Linked DNA regions of Homo sapiens: all the other regions are linked to region 1. The links are contacts of gene promoters, found by promoter capture Hi-C in blood cells and fetal thymus (Javierre and others, 2016). All regions are on one chromosome and are shown on one strand. The core of a region is centred on a gene start or on the middle of the fragment in contact, and the rest is flanking DNA. Distances in the headings are between cores, read along the strand shown. Region 1 holds the start of ITGAV (integrin subunit alpha V). Region 2 overlaps CALCRL-AS1 (CALCRL and TFPI antisense RNA 1). Region 3 overlaps TFPI (tissue factor pathway inhibitor).

The links. Contacts are between HindIII fragments. The CHiCAGO score rates a contact against its expected background, and 5 or more counts as called.
Region 2: a contact is called between a fragment that was not itself captured here and the fragment with the promoter of ITGAV in region 1, in 1 of 17 cell types (monocytes). The highest score is 11.5, in monocytes.
Region 3: a fragment that was not itself captured here is called in contact with the fragment with the promoter of ITGAV in region 1 in 2 of 17 cell types (M0 macrophages and M1 macrophages); the score reaches 7.7 in M0 macrophages.

Annotation. Positions count from the first base shown.
Region 1 is chr2:186,588,200-186,591,305 of GRCh38, forward strand. It overlaps ITGAV (integrin subunit alpha V), which reads left to right and starts at 1,857. Exons shown (of 30, transcript NM_002210.5): 1 at 1,857-2,324. The coding sequence starts at 2,140. LOC124906105 (a long non-coding RNA gene) reads right to left here and starts at 1,697. Exons shown (of 2, transcript XR_007087465.1): 1 at 791-1,697. RefSeq lists a silencer at 1,920-2,149 and an enhancer at 2,280-2,339. The HindIII fragment of the contact is 2,158 bases long and covers 1,448-3,106 here.
Region 2 is chr2:187,459,077-187,462,349 of GRCh38, forward strand. All of the region lies in intron 2 of CALCRL-AS1 (CALCRL and TFPI antisense RNA 1), which reads left to right. Among named protein-coding and RNA genes, the nearest start is that of CALCRL, 12 kb to the left of the region's middle. RefSeq lists a silencer at 1,552-1,752. The HindIII fragment of the contact is 953 bases long and covers 1,050-2,002 here.
Region 3 is chr2:187,546,526-187,549,771 of GRCh38, forward strand. The region is part of intron 1 of TFPI (tissue factor pathway inhibitor); the gene reads right to left. It overlaps CALCRL-AS1 (CALCRL and TFPI antisense RNA 1), which reads left to right. Exons shown (of 6, transcript NR_187179.1): 4 at 204-314; 5 at 553-638; 6 at 958-1,000. Among named protein-coding and RNA genes, the nearest start is that of TFPI, 6.3 kb to the right of the region's middle. RefSeq lists an enhancer at 304-1,503. The HindIII fragment of the contact is 5,188 bases long and covers 1-3,246 here.

The DNA of each region.
Region 1 (3,106 bases), core at 607-3,106:
ACATGCCAAAGGTTTTGCTGCATATCTTTTAGTCAAATTTAAAAATGGAAATATTTAATGCATTTTTTTTTTGAGATGGAGTCTCACTCTGTGGCCCAGGCTGGAGTGCAGTGGCACCATCTCAGCTTACTGCAGCCTCCGCCTTCCGGGTTCAAGCAATTCTCCTGCCTCAGCCTCCTGAGTAGCTGGGACTGCAGGCGCATGCCGCCACGCCCGGCTAATTTTTTGTATTTTAGTAGAGACGGGATTTCACTGTGTTGCCCAGGCTGGTCTCGAACTCCCGAGCTCAGGCAATTTGCCGGCCTCAGCCTCCCAAAGTGCTAGGACTACAGGCATGAGCCACCTCGCCCGGCCTTTTTTTTTTTTAAACACAGGGTCTTGTTCTGTCACTCAGGCTGGAGTGCAGTGGCAGGCTCATGACTTATCATAACCTGGAACTCCTGAGCCTAAGCGATCTATCTACCTGCCTTAGCCTCCGGCATAGCTGGGACTACAGGCATGCACCACACTCCCAGCTAATTTTTAAATTTTTGTAGAGATGAGGTCTCCCTATGTTCCCCTGGAACTCCCGGTCTCAAGCAATCCTCCTGCCTCAGTCTCCCAAAGTGCTGAGATTGCCAGCATGAGCACCTGGACCTGGTCCAATAAATATTACAAATTCGAATTAGGCATTTCACTTTCATTTATATACATATCCTTTCACAGGATTATTTGATAGTTATTAATGTATATTATGATTGAGTTTTAATAGTTACTTTGGGAAAACAGAAATTACTGTTCCAGTACTTACTTGTAAGTTGTAAGTCCACACAATGCACTTAAACTTCACCTTGTTCAACAGATTCTGTAGCACATGAAACACTTGAAATATGGAAGAGTCACTTCTCTGGGCACTTTGCTCATTTCGTCTGCTATTCATTCACTGATTGGACATTTTATTGATCGACTACTATCTGCTTGGCAAGGTGCTAGAAATAAGAACACTAAGAAAAAGGTCAAGGTTCCTGTCCTCAAGGCCCTCTCTCTCAGTCCAGTGTTGTCAAGGCTTGATGAAACACACCAGTGGCAAACAAGCACGCGGGGCCTTATTTCACCGGTGTGCGGTCCTTCTTCCAGCTCTGAAATTATGTCTATCCAAACATCCTAAATCAACAAATCAGTGTTTCTAAATCATACAACCGCAGCTAACAAACTGGGAATAAGGCTTCGATTATTCTGACTTGATTTAAAACGATCACTGCCAATTCTTTGCCCTGCGAATCCTTTCTTTGACTACTAAGTTAAGCTTTACATACCTCACTTGCAAGAGGCTATGCTGGCTTTCTGGAAATCCGTAATTAAGTTCAGTGTTTGTGGAATGGAGTGTAATTAACGACCATTAATTAACAGGGTTTCGTTCGTGAGAGCCTGCCAGGCTAAGCAGCAGAAACACGAGAAACTGATAAAAAGCTTTCCTCATTTTTAAACAACAGTCGCACGGAAGTTCCCGGCGGGACAAGGGAACGTGGGTGCCCTTGCTACTCCCGTGGACGCGGGTAGATTGGGACGCTGGACCGTATCTCCCCGCCCCCGCCCCCACGCCTCCTCAGGTGCTCAGCCTGAGGCCTTCGTCCAGGAGCGCTGCCGCTGACCCAGGCTCAGGAGCTGGGGGCCCCTGCACAGACGCCCAGGTCTCGGGACAGGCGGCGACTGCACTCACGGAAGTACGCTGAGCTCTCCCCTGTAGAAGGGCGCCTCTCCTCCCCCACTTCCTCCTCCAGCTCCACAGCAGCCTCCCGGGCCGGCTCCTCCTCCTTCCAGGTCTCCTCCCAGTGCCGCCGCGGCTCTCAGGCCTGAGGTGCGGCGCTCACCCCGGCAGTCCCCAGCCTCAGACGCTGCGTGGAGCGGCGGAGCCGGAGGGAAGCAAAGGACCGTCTGCGCTGCTGTCCCCGCCCCGCGCGCTCTGCGCCCCTCGTCCCTGGCGGTCGCTCCGAAGCTCAGCCCTCTTGCCTGCCCCGGAGCTGTCCCGGGCTAGCCGAGAAGAGAGCGGCCGGCAAGTTTGGGCGCGCGCAGGCGGCGGGCCGCGGGCACTGGGCGCCTCGCTGGGGCGGGGGGAGGTGGCTACCGCTCCCGGCTTGGCGTCCCGCGCGCACTTCGGCGATGGCTTTTCCGCCGCGGCGACGGCTGCGCCTCGGTCCCCGCGGCCTCCCGCTTCTTCTCTCGGGACTCCTGCTACCTCTGTGCCGCGCCTTCAACCTAGACGTGGACAGTCCTGCCGAGTACTCTGGCCCCGAGGGAAGTTACTTCGGCTTCGCCGTGGATTTCTTCGTGCCCAGCGCGTCTTCGTAAGTGGCCGCACTTGGAACTGGAGCCGGCCCCCTCCCCCACCGCGCGCACCCACCCAGCGTTTCTCCATTGGGATTGATTTCCGAGAGATCCCGGCGTCTGTCTGTCTCACCCATCCTACCTCTCAGAGTGGTTTATATCCTGGGTGGAGGAAATATTTGGGGAAATGAACTCCCTTTGGTACCCATCACCCAGTTACACCCCGCTTCTCACCTCTTAAAATTGGTTAGGGGCAGCGGGAGAGCTTTGAAGCAGACCTGTGCTTAAAAATCGGGGAAAGTGGGAAATCAACAAAGGCTGGTCTTGCCGGACTCCCCGCCTCCTGTGCCAGTGTCGAGGATTTGGTCAATATCATCCCCGAACTTCTTTTTCTCCTCTACCAGTTAGGCTTCTTGGTAGCCTTTTTCTGCTTTACAGGCTTAACGCCCGTCCTTTTCAGTCTCCCTAAACAAGCCCTCCCCCACTCTTTCCGCCTCTGTCTGATTCTGTTTCTCCTTACTCCTTTTGCAGACATTCTGATGACTTAAAATGACCATACTGTCCTATTGAATTCATTGTGTCTTATCTCTGGGACTGTCAGACATTTGCACATTTGAGGTTGAACAGATGAATTGAATGTGTCATCTGTTCTTTTTATAGTGATTCACTATTTAGGTCATTGTTCAGAAGGAACAAGGGTGTTTGCTGAGTTTTCACTCGCTGCAGGTCATTTGAATACTGCAGTATTTAATAATTCAGTTATGTTTTCAAGTTGCCAACGTTCCGCGTTGCAAGGGCCGTC
Region 2 (3,273 bases), core at 276-2,775, 870 kb after region 1:
TTATTAACAACCAGTGGAGATGAGAGAAACTGTGGAATGCAGTGGTTTTAAATATTTTCTCCCTAATTAAATGACTCTGTATGTGTGTGTGTGTGTGTGTGTGTGTGTGTGTGTGTGTGTAGCTTGTGAAGAAAGAAAATAGTTAATAAAGAATATGTAAAGAGATAAATAAAGTTTCCTAACATATACAGTCATTAGCTTTAGAATTTTAAATACTTTCTCATTGAACAGTGGCAGAAACTTTCAATAAAAAATGGTAATTGTTTATTTCGTCGTCTCTGGAGTAACAATTTCTTGGCAAGATGGATCATTTAGGTAGCTCACAGCTGTTCACATCTTGAAACTCTGGAAATTTCCCTAGAGTGACTTACAAATTTTGTGGAACATTCTGTTGAGAGTGGGGAATATGTTTTAAAAAAAAATACTGTTGGAAAGTCAAAGTTCTTGCTTTCTGATTCCAAAAACTGACTAACAAGAAGGAAGTAGCAGTTTCCTCTGGCTTCTAATTTAAGAACACCTGCAGCTTAGAAAAAGAGTTCAGTAAATTAGAATTATGCCCCTTGTGCAAATACAGATTAAATATGGATTAAGTCCCTAAAGAAATTCAAGTTCATAATTGAGTTGGCTGATTTTATCTTGTAATGAAAAAGAATAGCAAATCATCAACAATGTTGACAGGAATGAGTTGATTTTGGCTACAATTAGGATTTGTCTAAAACTTAGAATAAATTGTTGATTGAGATAAAACATTTTGGTACTAGAAAAATCTAATTCTAGTTAATTATTCTTAATTAAATTTGGCTTGCTTTTTTAGAATACTTAAGAGACAAAAACGGTCTAAAAATTATTTCAAAACTTCTCATGAGGTTGAAACGCCTTGATGAGTAGTATAAATCAGATCCACATATATTATTTTCCCTACGATATATATAATATTGAGAAAGAAAAAGTTAATGGATTCAGAAATGTTTTTTGATTATAAAACCCATTATTAAGGCATTCAGAAAATCCCACAGTATGTGGGACCTCCTGTAAGGTAATTACTTGGAAGCTTCTCATAAAATCTTTTGATGTTTGGGAATTAATCAGGCACTGGAAAAGGAAATTGTAGGTATAGTCAGTTTGAAGATGTCAAGCTCCATCAGCATAGGCTATTTTTGAAGAATATAGAAGACTACTGTACATAACAACCTTATGCTGGGGGGGGTATGGATATTGCTAACAGTAGAATCCGGCCAATGTTGATTTTTATTTTTTAATCACAGAACATCTCTCCATTTTTTTTTGGCTTAACATATGTTGGTATTAGATACTTTTAAATAGAGAGTATTGCCATAAAATCTTAAAATTACCCAAACCAAAAAACTTGTTTATATAACCAGTCTAGTCCAAAACACTCATTCTAAATATAAGTAAATATGGGGCCAGAGAAATTAGATGGTCAAAAAAATTCATCCACTAGGTTAGTACTGGTACTAGAAACAGTATCTCTTAGTTTATATTCTAAAACTTTTTCCCAAAGCCTCTTTCCCATCTTTCAGCAAAGCACTACACACACATAATTGAAAGATAAGTTAGTACAAACAGACTTCTAGCAAGTAAATAGCCATTCTCCATCCCTCAGACTTCTACATTCAACTGTCTTGTGGCTTCCTTCCATTACTGTCATGGAAATATACAATTCCTTTTTATTTCTATTTCTTTGTATGTGACTTATCCCTCCACAGTCTCCTGTTCTTAGGACTTTTCTCTTCGTTACTAGAATTTGAAATTTCATGTGTGTGCAGAGGGGGTATGTCAGGCGGTTACCCTTTGTTGGGTACAACACACCATTTCAGTGAAGGGAATCTCTGTTATTCTTTTTCTGTAAGATGTCTCTCCCCTCTATTTATCTCTGCTATTTTCCAGATCCTTTTGACACTTCAAGGTAGGGCACCTGAACTAATTGCGAAATTTTATCTTTTCTATCTTCTTTTCCATCCTAATGACCTCTTCTTTCCAAAGCTTAGAGATTTTTTTTTTTAACTTTATCTTCTATTTCTTGATTTTAAAAAACCATTTATTTCATTTTAATTACCAAGAGTTTCTTTCTTATAACCTAGTGTTATCATTGGCTGATTTCTCTGTGAATACTAATTATAGAAGTTACAACAAACAGGAAAATATTTAGCTCCATTTATGTACTTCAATAACATATTTGAATTTTCAATATAAGATTTTTTTATCTAAAAGTTTTTAAAATCATCTTTTGTGGGATTTACTGTTGGGCAAATTAGGGTTTCTGTTCTATTGTGGCTAGTACATTTTTCCTAGTGTACAGAAATGCTATTGATTTTGATACAGGAGTGCTGGGAAGGGACGAGCATGGTCCCTTTAAATGATACCGAACGGGGGACAGGGAAGTGCTGGGTAGAGCAAGGCCGGTTCCTGGCTAGGGCTTCACCCTCTGGCTTGTGCCCACGAACCTAGGTGAGGACAGGCACTCCTGCCTTTGGGCCCAAATGTTGCATTTTCCAAAACCACCCTGGCCCACCACACCCCCATCCTGGGCGGATAAAAACTGAGACCCTAGCAGGCAGATAGATACACAAGCGTCTGGACGTCCAGAGGAGGGGATCAGCGGAAGAAGACACAAGCAGCCGGACATCGAGAGGATGTCGAGGGGAGCATGCCAGTGGAAGAGCACATGACAGACACTGGCAGGACAGCAGGCCATTGACTGGAGGAACGATGTGGAGTTTAGCGAGATCAGGAGGAGGAGAGCACGGGCCGCTAAGCAGAGGGACCCCTGGTGCATCTCCCATCTGGCTCCCCCATCTGCTGAGAACTACTTCTACTCAGTAAAACCTCGGACTCATTCTCCAAGCCCTCGCGTGATCTGGTTCTTCCGGTACACCACGGCAGGAAACCCTGGGATACAGAAATCCCTCCGTCCTTGTGGTAAGTAAGCGGGTCTATGAGCTGGTTAACACAAGCCTGTAGACGGCAAAACTAAAAGAGCACCCTGTAACACACGCCCACTGGGGCTTCAGGAGCTGTAAACATCCACCTCTAGTCACTGCCGTGGGGTTAGAGCCCCATGGACTGTTTGTCTGTATGCTCCCCTAGAGGTTTGAGCAGCCGGGCACTGAAGAAGCAAGCCCCTCCCCCATCACATGTCCCTTTCCGGATCTGGGAACTTTTCCCATTTCAATTTCGTATGTTCAACTTTCATATAGCAACCTTGCTAAACTCCAGTATTATTTATTTCTAATTGTTGTGCTTCAGATTATC
Region 3 (3,246 bases), core at 401-2,900, 960 kb after region 1:
ATGAAAGGAAATGGAATAAAAAACGAATGCAAGATAATACAATGAATTTTTGGCATGAGAGGAAAAAAAAAGAATAATATATTAAATGTGTATTTCTCTATTATAATTACCATACATATTAAAAATGAGAATGATATAGAGAGATTGAGAAACCTGTGGCTACTTTTGGCTATTTTACCTGCTTTTTGTATTTGCTCTTCTAGGTACCTGTTATTGAGTGAGATAAGCAAATGGTATTTCAGGACCAAAACATCTGTTTCCTGAAGAGTTGCTCCTTTAATTGTGTATCTACCTACCTGTCTATGTAACTCTTGGTAAATGAATTAATTTGTTAGTTAAAATCAATCTATTAATTCATAATGAATGGGATATCTTGTGGGAGGTACATGTGCTTTGCAAATACATGGAAAGACGAGACTTTCCTAACAGGTTCTGGAATTCAGGTTGATATTACCTTTTTAAAAATTTTTAAGGATTAATAGCTAAAAAGATCAAGTCAGTTTCTTCATTTCTCCTGAAGGCCTGTTTCCATCAGATTTTATCTCTGCCTAGGCAAATACATTGGAGACTTCTCAACTTTCTGCTTCTGATGATCTCAACTTGTGGTATGGCAAAAGGAGAGCAAAATGTTCACCCAGGTATGGGAATTTCTCACAAAAATGTTACTTTATTATATTTAGGGGAAAAAGGGGGCAAAATCTACACTCATAATACCTGAGACTGGATTTCTAGAACCTTTTGGTTTCAGATTTATGATGAATTAGAAAACTTCCTGATTAGAAAAATGTTATAGTTTCAAATATTAGCTAAAATTTTTATCTGTAAGTACAATAAACATGACAAATAATGATCAGTGTTTTCACTCCTATTAAGGAGAGTATTTTTAGTAATAAAAATAAGCCTTAATGTGAAAAAGCTAAGAATTCATGATTGCTTCTAATGACAAGTATCTGGGAGGGGTCTGAGTTTGGTTCAAGAGAGGAACTACAGCTGTTGGTGACTACAACCATCTGCCCAGATGACATCGTGATCAACTCCTCTGAATCACTCTAAAGGAACGAGAAGTCCTGGCAGCTGAGTCATGATCCCCCAGGAGCCATTAAGAAGTTAATCTTCAGTCACTTCCATCCAAACAGAAGAAAACCCATGAAGGATGAGAACTATGGGTCCTGAGAATGACAGGTAATTGGTGCCACTTTATTCACAGAATCCAATAAATAGTACTCTTTGATTCACATATTTAATGCTCATTATTGTACATTTTTATAAAGACAAGTTAGTCTAAATTGCCATTCATCTCTTTCTTATCAAAGTCCTACCCAACACATGATCATATCATCAGAAATCAGATATTTTCTTGTTGAATGCCCTACCTAACTCATTCAATTGTAATTTTCTGGGAATGGTGACCAGAGATTTGATATTTTTGGAAGTTACATCAAATCCTCATTACTTTATAAGTGATTTAAAATTTATCACATGGTACACTTTTCATATCTTTCAAAGGATTAATATATAAAAAATATATAGTTAATGCTCAGCTTTAAAGACATTAAAGGACAGAGTTATACAGAAAGAAAGATCCAGAGATCTTTCTTTAATAAAGATATTAAAATTGAATCTGCTTATTCAAGTATAATGATAGAACAGAAAGAGATCTTAAAATTGTTTAATCTCTTCCTTGGCTTTCAAAAATATAAAGTCTTCTTTATTGGAGATTTCTTTATCCATAGAATATCTTAATTCCCCACTCCCCAACTTCCTCCCCATGTGAAGTTTTATCTGTCTTTAAAATATTTGTGTTGTCTTCTTCAGGATATATCATTGATTGGCACTTTTTGATTCTAGTTTTATATACTGTTATCCTTGTATATTAAAGTAGGTCTCAAATATATCTTTCATGGTGGTGTGTAAGGTTCTGAGAGAGCTGGAAAAAAGGTATAAGCTCCCTTCTAAAGTGCAAGTATATACTTGCAGAGATATTTTTTCACTTACATTCTTGGAGATCATCCATGGTCTCCCCATGTCTTTTACAAAAGAGGTTTCCAGCACCTATTAGGGAAGCTAGATGGTCACTTGTATCTTCCTTATCTCTGTATTAGATGATAATATCGAATGCAGGTAAGTGGTGGTGGGGAGAGTAATATTGACAGAATAGTTATATGGCAAACATTGGCACCTCAGAAATTTTTTGCTTTTTTGAGGGCTCTTATTAATATTTGCAAACTTTAAAAAGCCTTGAAAAGAGTTTTATCCAGAGCTCACCACATATAGAAAAACAGATCTCTCTTGTTATGGGAATTGAGGCTAGTCCAAATTCCCCCAGATTAAACATCTTTCCTCATTTGGCACATTCTTCAGCTGTTCCTTAAGAAAAAATCATACTAAGGAAAGTTAATTCTGGGAAGTCTAGAATTAGAATAAAATTATTACACTAAAAGGAAAGCCCAGATATCTCTTTAAAAATGCTTAATTTTTTTGAAAACTCACATCAGCACCAGATCATTTCTTTAATGTGTACAGATTTCCTTTCTTCATTGACTAAATAGCTTTGCTAAACGAGATTAAAACCACATAACTCAAATGAGACATATAAGATCTTGAATAATGTTCACATAGCTACAACATCAAATTCCAGTGCTAATATAAATTATGTCTACTACGTTTTCATTTATTTGGGATTATCTGTTTGCCTCAAGTGGTGTAAAAAAATTGAGCAGGAACCACCTGAAACTTCCTTTCACAACAAGAGAAAGTTGTAATTTGTATTTACTTTACCTAGCTTTCTTTATATGAATGTAGCCAAGAAGCAGGGGAGGAAGGACAATTACAGGAAATTGTGATAGGAAACTATTAGGAAAAGCAATTTGTAATTTCTGCTAAAACTCTAGGTAAATAACCCTGAGCATTCATAGTCTGGCAAGTGGGAAGTACCTGTTGAACAAGTGATCACTTGATTGATTTTAAGCATGTGGAGCTCATTTGTCATCTAAAATATAGAAGAGAGTGAGATATTAGCTTCCTGAATAGCTATTGTTATTTAGAAAAAATAATGAACCAATAAACTTCTTACATAAGATGAAATAACTGTTTTCTAGAAACAGTGATCTTATGTTCTTCATTGTATAAACACTTATGTACTCATATCACATAGCTCCTGGGATACAATAAACAATAAATGTATGTTTATCTTATTTAGGCAAACTAAAAGTTACAGGCTCTGTGCCCTTAAATTTTTAAATTTAT